Linked DNA regions of Homo sapiens: all the other regions are linked to region 1. The links are contacts of gene promoters, found by promoter capture Hi-C in blood cells and fetal thymus (Javierre and others, 2016). All regions are on one chromosome and are shown on one strand. Each heading gives the region's core, a stretch centred on a gene start or on the middle of the fragment in contact. The rest is flanking DNA. Distances are from core to core; before and after follow the strand shown.

Region 1 (2,700 bases), core at 85-2,584:
GACCCCCACCAGATGCAACCCCTTGAACCTGGACTTCCCAGCCTCCAGAACTATGAGCCAAATGAATTTCTTTTCTTTATAAATTACTCAGTCTCAGGTATTCTGTTGTAGTAGCACAAAACTAAGACACTGCCCAGTATACCAGCTACATGTGACTATCAAGCCCCTGAAATATGGATAGTCTGAATTGAAATGTGCTTAGCCTGGCATGGTGGCTTACATCTGGAGTGCCAGCTCCTTGGGAGGCTAAAGCGCGAGGGTCCCTTGAGCCTAGGAGCTCGAGACTGCAGTGAACTATGACCACATCACTGCACTCCAGCCTGGGCAACAGAATGAGACCCTGTCTCTTAAAAATAAAATAACAAAATAAAACAATTGTGTTGTGAACATAAACTACTCATCAATTTCAAAGACTTAGTATGACAAAAATAAAAACAAATCATTTCTATATTGATTACAGATGTAATTATAATATTTTAAATAACTGGGTCAAATAAACTAGATCGTTAAAATTAACTTCACCTGCTTATTGCTGCTTTCTTAGATGTGGCTACTAGGAAATTTCGAAATGCACACATGGCTCATCTTTGTAGCTCCAATTCTATTTCAATTGGACGGTGCCCCTTTAAGGAAGTTTGCCTCAGTTCAAGGCAGACGTGCCCTCAAATGAGTTTGTTTCAAATTTATTTAAAACAAAGCCTGGGTGTGGTGGCTCCAGCCTGTAATCCCAGCACTTTGGGAGCCCAAAGAAGGTGGCTCGCTTGAGGCCAGCGGTTCAAGACCAGCCTGATCAACATAGTGAGACCCTGTCTCTATTAAAAAAAGCTACAAAAATTAGGCAACATGGTGGCACATGCCGATTGTCCCAGCTATTCAGGAGGCTGAGGCAAGAGGATCTATTGAGCCCAGGAGGTCAAGGCTACAGTGAGCTGTGATCAAACCACTGCACTCCAGCCTAGGCAAGAGAATGAGACCCTATTTCAAAAAACAAAGAAAAAAAAATTCGTTTTGCTTTCAGAGCTTTTGGATTTCTGGGTTGAATTGCAATTGCTAGATCAAAGATCTAGCCTGTGAGCCTGGAGAATCAGGGCTGAGAAGGACAGGGCGGGCAGCCCTCTCCCCAGCATCCCGTGGACAGCAGGCTCTACGCCCAGGACTGGCCTAACCTCCGCTGCCTAACCGTCATCCCCCTGCAGCCACCCTTCCCAGAGTCCTTTGCCCAGGCCACCCCAGGCTTCTTGGCAGCCCTGCCGGGCCACTTGTCTTCATGTCTGCCAGGGGGAGGTGGGAAGGAGGTGGGAGGAGGGCGTGCAGAGGCAGTCTGGGCTTGGCCAGAGCTCAGGGTGCTGAGCGTGTGACCAGCAGTGAGCAGAGGCCGGCCATGGCCAGCCTGGGGCTGCTGCTCCTGCTCTTACTGACAGCACTGCCACCGCTGTGGTCCTCCTCACTGCCTGGGCTGGACACTGCTGAAAGTAAAGCCACCATTGCAGACCTGATCCTGTCTGCGCTGGAGAGAGCCACCGTCTTCCTAGAACAGAGGCTGCCTGAAATCAACCTGGATGGCATGGTGGGGGTCCGAGTGCTGGAAGGTGAGTGAGCCCCAATTCCTCTGGCTGGACACTGGGAAGCTAGCTCTCAGCTTTGTCCCCTGCCCTGCTCTGTACGCCTGGGACCTGGCAGACTCCTGGCCCCAGTATAGCCTGCCTCGGCTATAAGGAGAGAGGAGGCCAGGGGCTGGATCTTCCTGGCGGCTGTGGCCCAGCTAACTGTTACGCAATTTTTTAGAAGTAGGAAAGATTTAAAGGCAACATGGGAAGGGATTTGGGAATTATCTTTTTCTCAGAATGAAATGATCCATTTGACAGCCCCTCCTCACAACGCCACGAACAAGGGGAGCAGGGAGAGTGCCCCGTTAACAGATATTTGTGGGAAGACCCCTCCCCTTGAATGAGGTGGCTGTGGACAAAACTGAGGACCCTCAAGATCGGGTTCCCACCCCACTTCCTCCACTTGCAGCCAAAGTCTCCTGAAGGTTCTGCAAAAACAGTCAAGTGTTTGTTTAGCTTTGAGAGCTATAAGATCCCCAAGAAGGGGGCTGGAGACAGGCCAAGGTAAACACACACATGCGCACATCATGCACACACACACAAGCACACATGCACGCACGCACACACACATGCACATCACACACACAAGCACGCATGCACGCATGCACACAAGCATATCACACACACACACAAGCACACAGGTGGCTCCCACAGGGCTGGGTGCTTCCTGGGGCGCATGTGATAGCAAAAGCTGTAGTTCACTAAGTATCTGCTCAATGTGGGCACAACCCAGGTGCATTGCATGGGGTACTTCAGTGCCCTCTCCCCGTCATCCCTGAGGTTACACCCATTATTATTATCCTCTTTTAGCAAAGAAGGGAGGGGGTTCTCTTAATCATGACTGGGCAGCATTCACTGGGAAAGCGGCCCCACCTAACAGCCTCAGACCAGGGTCCCCACTCCTTGGCAGCTGCAGTGAGCCCGGCTTCTCCACCCACGCCACATCCCACATCCACTGCCCCTTCTCCTCTCAATAATCTTGCTCCATAACAGATTCCCTAGGAATTCAGTGCTTAATACAACCACACCCGTGAACTGTGCCCAGAAGGGAGCAAAGGCAGTGCCAGTGCCTAGAACAGAGCTTCAGAACTGG
Region 2 (2,700 bases), core at 94-2,593, 410 kb after region 1:
ATGGCCGCCAGAGCCCAGCATGGTTGGAGGCACTACAGGGGAGGCCCGGGCTCAGCCTCAGTAAAAGGCACAGTTAAGACGCCACCCTCAGGTGGACCCCAGCCTTCTCCTGTGAGATGCGGAGGCCTGGACACACCCCTCTGTCTGAGCCTCAGTTTCCTTGTCAGGAGGCAGGGAGGGTGGCTTGCCCTGCAGCTCAAATGGATGGAGCACTGGCAGGCTGGATGGTGTCCGGGTGCCTGGGCACAGCCTCCAGGTCCTGGAGCCTCCAGGTCCTTTTCTGTGATCCCTGCTGGGAGGGGAAGCTGGCCTTGCACCGCGTCCTGAGAGAGGGGGACAGTGGCACTGGAGCTGTTCCTGCTCTGTGATGCCTGCTGGGAGGGGAAGCAGGCCTCGTACCAGGTCCTGAGAGAGGGGGACAGTGGCACTGGAGCTGTTCCTGCTCTGTGATCCCCGCTGGGAGGGGAAGCAGGCCTCGTACCAGGTCCTGACAGAGGGGGACAGTGGCACTGGAGCTGTTCCTGCTCTGTGATTCCTGCTGGGAGGGGAAGCTGGCCTTGTGCCAGGTCCTGAGAGGGGGGGACTGTGGCATTTCTCTCATCACTAGCCCGCAGGGGTCTAGGAGAGGGTGACACCAGCCAGGGCTGGCAGGGCACCCTCTCTGCTCTCTCTAGCCTTTCTGGTAGCAGCGGGACCCTCTCTTCAAGTGCACTTGAGATGGTCACCCAGCCCCTGACAGCTGGAGCACTGGGGGGCAGCGGATAGACAACTTACACTGGCCTGTGTCCTCAGCCCACACCCTCTCTGTGGCAGCCCCTGGACACCTCGCCACAACCCAGCTCCTCCACCATGTCGGCCAGGCCCGAGGAGGGCACCAGGCCCCGTGGGTGTCAAACACTCAACCCCAAGCAGTGGGGTGCAAGGAGGGGACAGAGGGGCCTGCCCTGGTCACTCCAAATGCTCCTACGCCCAAGAATTCGACGCCTGTCATAGCACACAGGCATGCATTACTAGTGTCATTAAAGAAATATAATCAAGTGCCGGGGCAAGGTAGAGCCTCAAAGAACAAAGTCTAGAAAAAGGAACCTGTTCCTCCCCAAAGTGCTGCTCCACAGGAGGAGCCCTGGCTGCCGGGGAGCCCAAGGCCAGAGCCCAAGGGCGGCCTCACCTGGTGGCAGGTCCCTAAGAACCTCCCCACATAAGTCGTCTCCACCAGCCCCTCAACTCGAGCACTCAGGCTCCTTTCAAGAGCACCTGTCACGCGAGGGGCTGTGCACAGGACACATGGTCCCCTCCTCACACCACCCACCCGAACTTCCAGCTGAGGACACAGAGGCACAAGCAGTCATGTGCCCCCAAGCCACTCAGCGGGGACAGCATTCAAAGCCTAGGCTCTCAACCACACCCTATCCCCAGATGCAAAGCTGACCACTGAGCGGTGTGCTCCAGTGCAGGAAGGCAGGGGGCACGCTCTTGCCTGTCTCTAAAGCCACTTGGGGCACATGTGCCCTTGTAGCCTGGAGGCAGTCCTGCCAGCTCCTGCTGAAGTTGCAGTTTTCAAACTTTCAGGGCCAGAAGGACCCTTATCTCAAATAAAACCTCTGAAAGTACAAATATCTAATTATGACACAATAAAAAATAAATATTTGGTCCCAGCCCCAGTTCCTGACACAGAGTCCTCTAAAACCCTTGTCATTTCCTCAGCAACAGGGGTGCTAGGAGCCTCTTTTGTTCTAATATTTGTTCCTTGACCTTTGCTCCCAACACAGAACTCCAAACCCTTGGAATTTCCCGGGTGGTAGGAGTGTCTTATGTGCCAGTGAGGTGACTCTTGGCTCCTGGAGGTGGCTGGCTGCCAGAAAGACCAAGCCATGATTAGAGACTTGGAAGTGTCGTCTAAGAGCTCCCGAGGAAAAACAAACAAAAACCTGGGCCAGGTGGGCCGGGCATGGGGGCTCACGGCTGTAATCTCAGCACTTTGGGAGGCCGAGGCAGGTGGATCACCTGAGGTCGAGCGATTGAGACCAGCCTGACCAACATGATGAAACCCCGTCTCTACTAAAAATACAAAATTAGCCAGGCATGGTAGCATATGCCTGTAATCCCAGCTACTCGGGAGGCTGAGGCAGGAGAAGCACTTGAACCTAGGAGGCGGAGGTTGCAGTGAGCCAAGATCACACCATTGCACTCCAGCCTGGGCAACAAGAGCGAAACTCTGTCTCAAAAACAAACAAAAACCACTTTGGGAGGCTGAGATGGACAGATCATGAGGTCAAGAGATTGAGACCATCCTGGCCAACATGGCGAAACCCCCATCTCTACTAAAAATACAAAAATTAGCCAAGCGTGGTGGCACGTGCCTGTAGTCCCAGCTACTCAGGAGGCTGAGGCAGGAGAATTGCTTCAACTCGGGAGGCGGAGGTTGCAGTGAGCCAAGATTGTGCCACTGCACGCCAGCCTGGGCAGCAGAGTGAGGCTTCGTCTCAAAACAAAACAAAACAAAAACAAAACAAAAACCTGGAACTGAATTTCAGCCCAGCCCCATCCTCCAGGGAGGGGACAGGGGCTGGAGATGGAGTTAATCATCAATCCTGCCTACGTGATGAAGCCTCCAGAAAAGGCCCTGAAATGGGGTTTTCAGGAGAGCTTCTGGTTTGCTGAATACGAGGAAGGTGGTGCGCCCCACCCCTTCCCCCACAC
Region 3 (2,700 bases), core at 1-2,500, 270 kb after region 1:
CAGCCTCCCGAGTAGCTGGGACTACAGGTGCCCGCCACCACGCCCGGCTAATTTTTTGTATTTTTAGTAGAGACGGGGATTCACCACGTTAACCAGGATGTTCTCGATCTCCTGACCTCGTGATCCGCCCACCTCGGCCTCCCAAAGTGCTGGGATTATAGGTGTGAGCCACCGCGCCCGGCCTGAGACCAGCTCCCCTCCCAGCTAGGTGACTGAGGATGACCTGGCACAGTCGTGCTGACTGAAGGCTTGGAGAGGCCAGGTGGCCACCTGAGTGGGGCGGCGAGTCCCGCGTCACCCACCCAGACGGGGACTGGAAGACACTGCAGACTCAGGCTCTGGGCAGACAGAAGGCTTTGTTACTGCCACCGGGCAGGAGACACAGGGTCAGGGTTCCAGGGCCAAGTTATCCACTCCCTTGGGTCTTTCCTGCACGAGAAGCACAGCGGGACCAAGCAGGTTCGCTCGTTGTTCCCTAGGGGGATGAGCACCCTTCCCGCCACTCCCCTCACCTTCCGCCTCCACCCCCAGTACAGTTCCGTGCAGGTCCCAGAGGCCGGCAGGGCTCACCTTCCAGGGGCTCACCTTCCTGGGGCTTTCCCTGCGGGGCCCGGGGGAGCTGCAGCAGCAGCAGTGGGCGACGACCAGCAGCAGCAGGAGCAGCACGGTGCCTGGGGACAGGACAGGCGTCCAGGTGTGGCCCCAACCTGGAGCCCAGGGCAGGGGGCTGGGAGGACCCAGAGGCCACAGCCACACTTACCCATGAAGGTGAGGAAAACAATGAAGGCAACAGTGTCCCATGTGGACTGGAAAAACTGGTGGCTCTTCAGTCTCCCCAGGACTTCCTGAACCGTGGCCTCCAGCTCCTCTGTGGACACAGCCATCTTGGCGTGCACCGTGCCACCTGCCCCGGTCCCCCAGAGGCTGCATCAGGATCCTGGGCTCAGCTCAGCGGGGACCACATCCAGGCTTCCCACAGCCCAGCCACTGCCCGCTCCTGGCCCAGCGCCAGCTTCCCCACCCCCTCCCACTCCACTTCTCCCTCGGCCCCAGGCCCAGCTTCTCTCCTTGCCCAGCCCTGTGGTCCTTACCCTGACAACCTTCTCCCCAGCCACTGTCATCTCCCCTCTCTCTCCCCCTGGCAGCCCAGCCCCCAGGCCCCCACCTACCTCCTAGAAGCCTCCAATTCCCCCAACCAGGCAGGTCCTGGGGAGCACAGGCTGCTTCCTGCTTCCGGCTCCACACCACCTGAGGCCTTGGCAACCAGCCCCGCCCTCCCCAGGGCCAGCAGAGGCCGCCCAGCCCAGGGGAGAGGGCCCAGGCCCAGCAGGTGCGCTCCCTGGCTCCCCACTGCTGGAGGCCCAGGGAGGAAGACGCCGGCCTGTGGCTTCTTCACTCCTGAGACTTCTTACCTTTCCTCAGTATCCCAGATATGCAGCTGGGAACACCTGTGTGCTTGGCCACTGCTGACTTCGTGAATGAAAGAGAGAGAGATGGGAGAGAAGGTGGGTGGGAGGGAGGGGGAAGGGGGAGAAAACCTACCTGCATCCCACGACCCTTGAGCAGCTAGGACAGGTGTGCCTGCATCATAGAGTTGTCCTTGGAATCCTCAACGATTGGTTCCAGCACCTCCGTGGGTACCAAAATCCACAGATGCTATAAACTCCCTGATATAAAATGAGGCAGTATTTGCATATAACCTGTGCATATACTCTATACTTTAAATCATCTCTGGATTACTTATAATACTTAATATATTTGGCCTGGCCTGGTGGCTCACACCTGTAATCCCACCACTTTGGAAGGCCAAGTTGGGCAGATCACTTACTTAGATCAGGAGCTTGAGACCGTCCTGGCCAACATGGCGAAACCCCACCTCTACTAAAAATACAAAAATTGGGCCGGGCGCAGTGGCTCACGCCTGTAATCCCAGCACTTTGGGAGGCAGAGGCGGGTCAGCTGAGGCCAGAAGTTTGAGACCAGCCTGACTGACCAACGTGGAGAAACCATGTCTCTACTAAAAATACAAAATTAGCCAGGCGTGGTGGCACATTCCTGTAATCCCAGCTACTAGGGAGGCTGAGGCAGGAGAATCACTTGAACCCGGGAGGCAGAGGTTGTGGTGAGCCGAGATCACGCCATTGCACTCCAGCCTGGGCAACAAGAGCAAAACTCCATCTCAAAAAAAAAAAAAGATAAAAATACAAAAATTGGTCGGGTGTGGTGGCTCATGCCTGTAATCCCAGCACTTTGGGAGGCCGAGGCAGGCGGATCACAAGGTCAGGAGATCAAGACCATCCTGGGTAACACGGTAAAACCCCATCTCTACTAAAAATACAAAAAATTAGCCGGCCATGGTGGCACGCGCCTATAGTCCCAACTACTCAGGAGGCTGAGGCAGGAGAATTGCTTGAACCCTGGAGGCAGAGATTGCAGTGAGCCGAGATCTCGCCACTGCACTCCAGCCTGGGTGACAGAGCAAGACTCCATCTCAAAAAATAATAATAATACAAAAATTACCCCGCTGTGGTGGCGGGCACCTGTAATCCCAGCTACTTGGGAGGCTGAGGCAGGAGAATCGCTTGAACCCAGGAGGCGGAGCCTGTAGTGAGCCAAGATCATGTCACCGCACACCCGCCTGGGTGACAGAGCAAGACTATCTCAAAAAAAATAAATTGGCTGGGTGCGGTGGCATACTCC
Region 4 (2,700 bases), core at 99-2,598, 340 kb after region 1:
TGTTCTCTTGAAGCAAGGTGCAGAGCTAGAAATGAAAGACATCCAGGGCTGGACAGCCCTCTTCCACTGTACCAGCGCCGGGCACCAGCACATGGTCAGGTTCCTCTTGGACAGTGGAGCCAATGCCAACGTGAGGTGATTGCCACATCTTTAGTGGCCACAGGAGTGGCCTAGGTGTCATCTGACTCTAAGGAGGGTGGCTCTGGAGGCAGCTAACCAGAGTTTAGGGCCACCCTGCTTCGGCACGAGAGGCTCAAGATGAGGGGTAGGACCAGAGTCCTTCCAGGCACAGGCCTTTTCGTACATCTGTGAGATGCATCTCTTCAAGCCCTCTCAGCTTCCTTTTCTTTATCTGAAACCCACCTGGGTCATACAGTTGTAAGAATTACATGTTTTATTGTATGCCAGGGGCCTAACATACTGAATGGCATTTAAATGTCATACATTACATGCAAATTCCTTCCATTTTCTTGCTTTTTGTATGGATGAGGTGAGGTGATGCTTTGAAACAGTCATGAGGCCGGGCGTGGTGGCTCACGCCTGTGATCCCAGCTCTTTGGGAGGCCGAGGTAGGCAGATCACGAGGTCAGGAGATCGAGACCATCCTGGCTAACATGGTGAAACCCCATCTCTACTAAAAATACGAAAAAATTAGCTGGGCATGGTGACGGGCGCCTGTAGTCCCAGCTACTCGGGAGGCTGAGGCAAGAGAATGGTGTGAACCCGGGAGGTGGAGCTTGCAGTGAGCCGAGATTGCACCACTGCACTCCAGCCTGGGTGACAGAGCAAGACTCCATCTCAAAAAAAAAAAAACAAAAACAACAGTCATGAGTTTTGGCCGGGCTCAGTGGCTCACACCTGTAATCCTAGCACTCTGGGAGGCCAAGGCGGGCAGATCATGAGGTCAGGAGTTCGAGACCAGTCTGGCCAACATGGTGAAACCCCGTCTCTACTAAAAATACAAAAATTAGCTGGGCGTGGTGGCAGGTGCCTGTAATCCCAGCTACTCGGGAGTCTGAGGCGGGAGAATCACTTGAAACCAGAAGGCAGAGGTTGCAGTGAACTGAGAGATCGTGCCACTGCACTCCAGCCTGAGCAACAAGAGCAAAACTCTGTCTCAAAAACAAACAAAAAACCAGTCATGAGTTTTATAAGTTGGAAGTGGGATTGTTGTCTAAAGCTTGTCATGATAATAATCACCTTTGAACAAACGCAGCGGGTACCAATGCAGCACCCACCCTGGCTGTCATTCATTCTAAGACACCTGATAATTTTGTATGCCACTAAGAAAGAAAAAATATGCTACTAATTAACATTCAACTCGCCTGTTGATTTAAAGATGTTTTCTGACTTGAGAGATGTTAAAATATGAACACTGTGTGTCTTAAGATGGATGAAAACCAGCATTTCCCATGCATGGTTCCTGACTTCCAAACCAGCATGAGACAAGGAGGGATTTGGAAGCCCTCTGAAGACAGTGCCGAGTTAGCATAACCAAGCATGAAAAGCAAGCTTCAGGAGCTAAGCGTGGCAAAGATAGCTTAGATCATTAGTACTTGAACTTTTCAGAGTGGGTTCATGGAGGACGTTGAACTTGAAGCCAGGATTTGGATGAATGGATGGGAGATGCTGGCTTTCTGTGAGGAATTAGAACAGCTTTTTGAATATGATTGAGGTGGAGATTTCAGAGGTAGCCAGTGGGAATAGCCAACAGGTGGGACGACAGGCAGACATCTGTCTTTAGGACAAAGACCAGCCCTGGGGACAGACACCAGAAGAGTAAATGGAGCTGATGTGTTATATTCACTGTTCTCATGTCACCTGTTAATTCTGGAAAGGGACAGTGTTCTACGCTTAGGGATCGGTGACTCGTGCACTGCTCAGGGTTTATCTTCAGCAGGGAGTTTTTGCCTGGCGGAACTTGTCTCTTCCAATCATCTGACTGTGGCCCACATCTTGCAGGGAGCCGATATGTGGATTTACTCCCTTGATGGAAGCAGCTGCTGCTGGCCATGAGATAATCGTGCAGTATTTTCTGAATCACGTAAGTGACCCTGATTATTAGCATGTAATGTAGTCACGGCAAATGAGGAATCATATTACTGAAGTATAAGCTATTACAGAATTTTCCTTTGCACAGAAATAACTTTCATTCATTTATTCAACACATTTTCATTATCTATTGACGCCCGGTGTTGAGTGGTGCTTAGGCATTAAGGATACAGTGGTGAGTAGAAATAGACACCTATTCCTGTAATAATTTTGAAAATACTATCTGAAAATTATGGAAAAATATTTTAAAAGTAAATAGCACTCATAATCCTGTCACTTAGAAAAATTATATAGAATAAGAAGGCAGAGATCCTCCTCTCTTTTTCAACCTCCCTGATGCCCACTTGGTTTGAGAAAGAGCTGCCCTAGGACTTTTCCTCTGCTGTGGAAAGATGTGTCTGTAGGCAAGTGTGTGCACATTGCTTTGTGTTTTGAACAAAGTGGGATTCTACGTATAGTCTGTAACTTAGAGACATCTTATAGACATCTTATCTTTGTACAGTATTCCGTGTACAATCTGCCTCAGTTAATTTAATGAGTTTCTTATTAGTAGAAACTTAGTTTTTAACATTTTGCAATTATAAACAGTGTTCCGGGAATATCCTTTTACACATAGCTTTAATACATTTGCAGTTATTTCTGTATGTT

The links. Contacts are between HindIII fragments. The CHiCAGO score rates a contact against its expected background, and 5 or more counts as called.
Region 2: a contact is called between a fragment that was not itself captured here and the fragment with the promoter of C16orf89 in region 1, in 1 of 17 cell types (erythroblasts). The highest score is 5.3, in erythroblasts.
Region 3: a contact is called between the fragment with the promoter of SMIM22 here and the fragment with the promoter of C16orf89 in region 1, in 1 of 17 cell types (M2 macrophages). The highest score is 7.8, in M2 macrophages.
Region 4: a fragment that was not itself captured here is called in contact with the fragment with the promoter of C16orf89 in region 1 in 1 of 17 cell types (M2 macrophages); the score reaches 5.3 in M2 macrophages.

The regions. Positions count from the first base shown.
Region 1 is chr16:5,064,590-5,067,289 of GRCh38, reverse strand. C16orf89 (chromosome 16 open reading frame 89) reads left to right here and starts at 1,334. Exons shown (of 8, transcript NM_001098514.3): 1 at 1,334-1,589. The coding sequence starts at 1,382. The HindIII fragment of the contact is 15,659 bases long and covers 1-2,700 here.
Region 2 is chr16:4,653,292-4,655,991 of GRCh38, reverse strand. All of the region lies in intron 4 of MGRN1 (mahogunin ring finger 1), which reads right to left. Among named protein-coding and RNA genes, the nearest start is that of MIR6769A, 17 kb to the left of the region's middle. RefSeq lists enhancers at 845-1,344, 1,345-1,846. The HindIII fragment of the contact is 6,090 bases long and covers 1-2,700 here.
Region 3 is chr16:4,793,919-4,796,618 of GRCh38, reverse strand. SMIM22 (small integral membrane protein 22) reads right to left here and starts at 1,250. Exons shown (of 4, transcript NM_001253794.2): 1 at 1,170-1,250; 2 at 761-904; 3 at 571-671; 4 at 128-429. The coding sequence starts at 884. The coding sequence ends at 388. The HindIII fragment of the contact is 14,181 bases long and covers 1-2,700 here.
Region 4 is chr16:4,724,094-4,726,793 of GRCh38, reverse strand. ANKS3 (ankyrin repeat and sterile alpha motif domain containing 3) reads left to right here. Exons shown (of 18, transcript NM_133450.4): 5 at 14-135; 6 at 1,963-2,044. Among named protein-coding and RNA genes, the nearest start is that of ANKS3, 8.8 kb to the left of the region's middle. The HindIII fragment of the contact is 332 bases long and covers 1,183-1,514 here.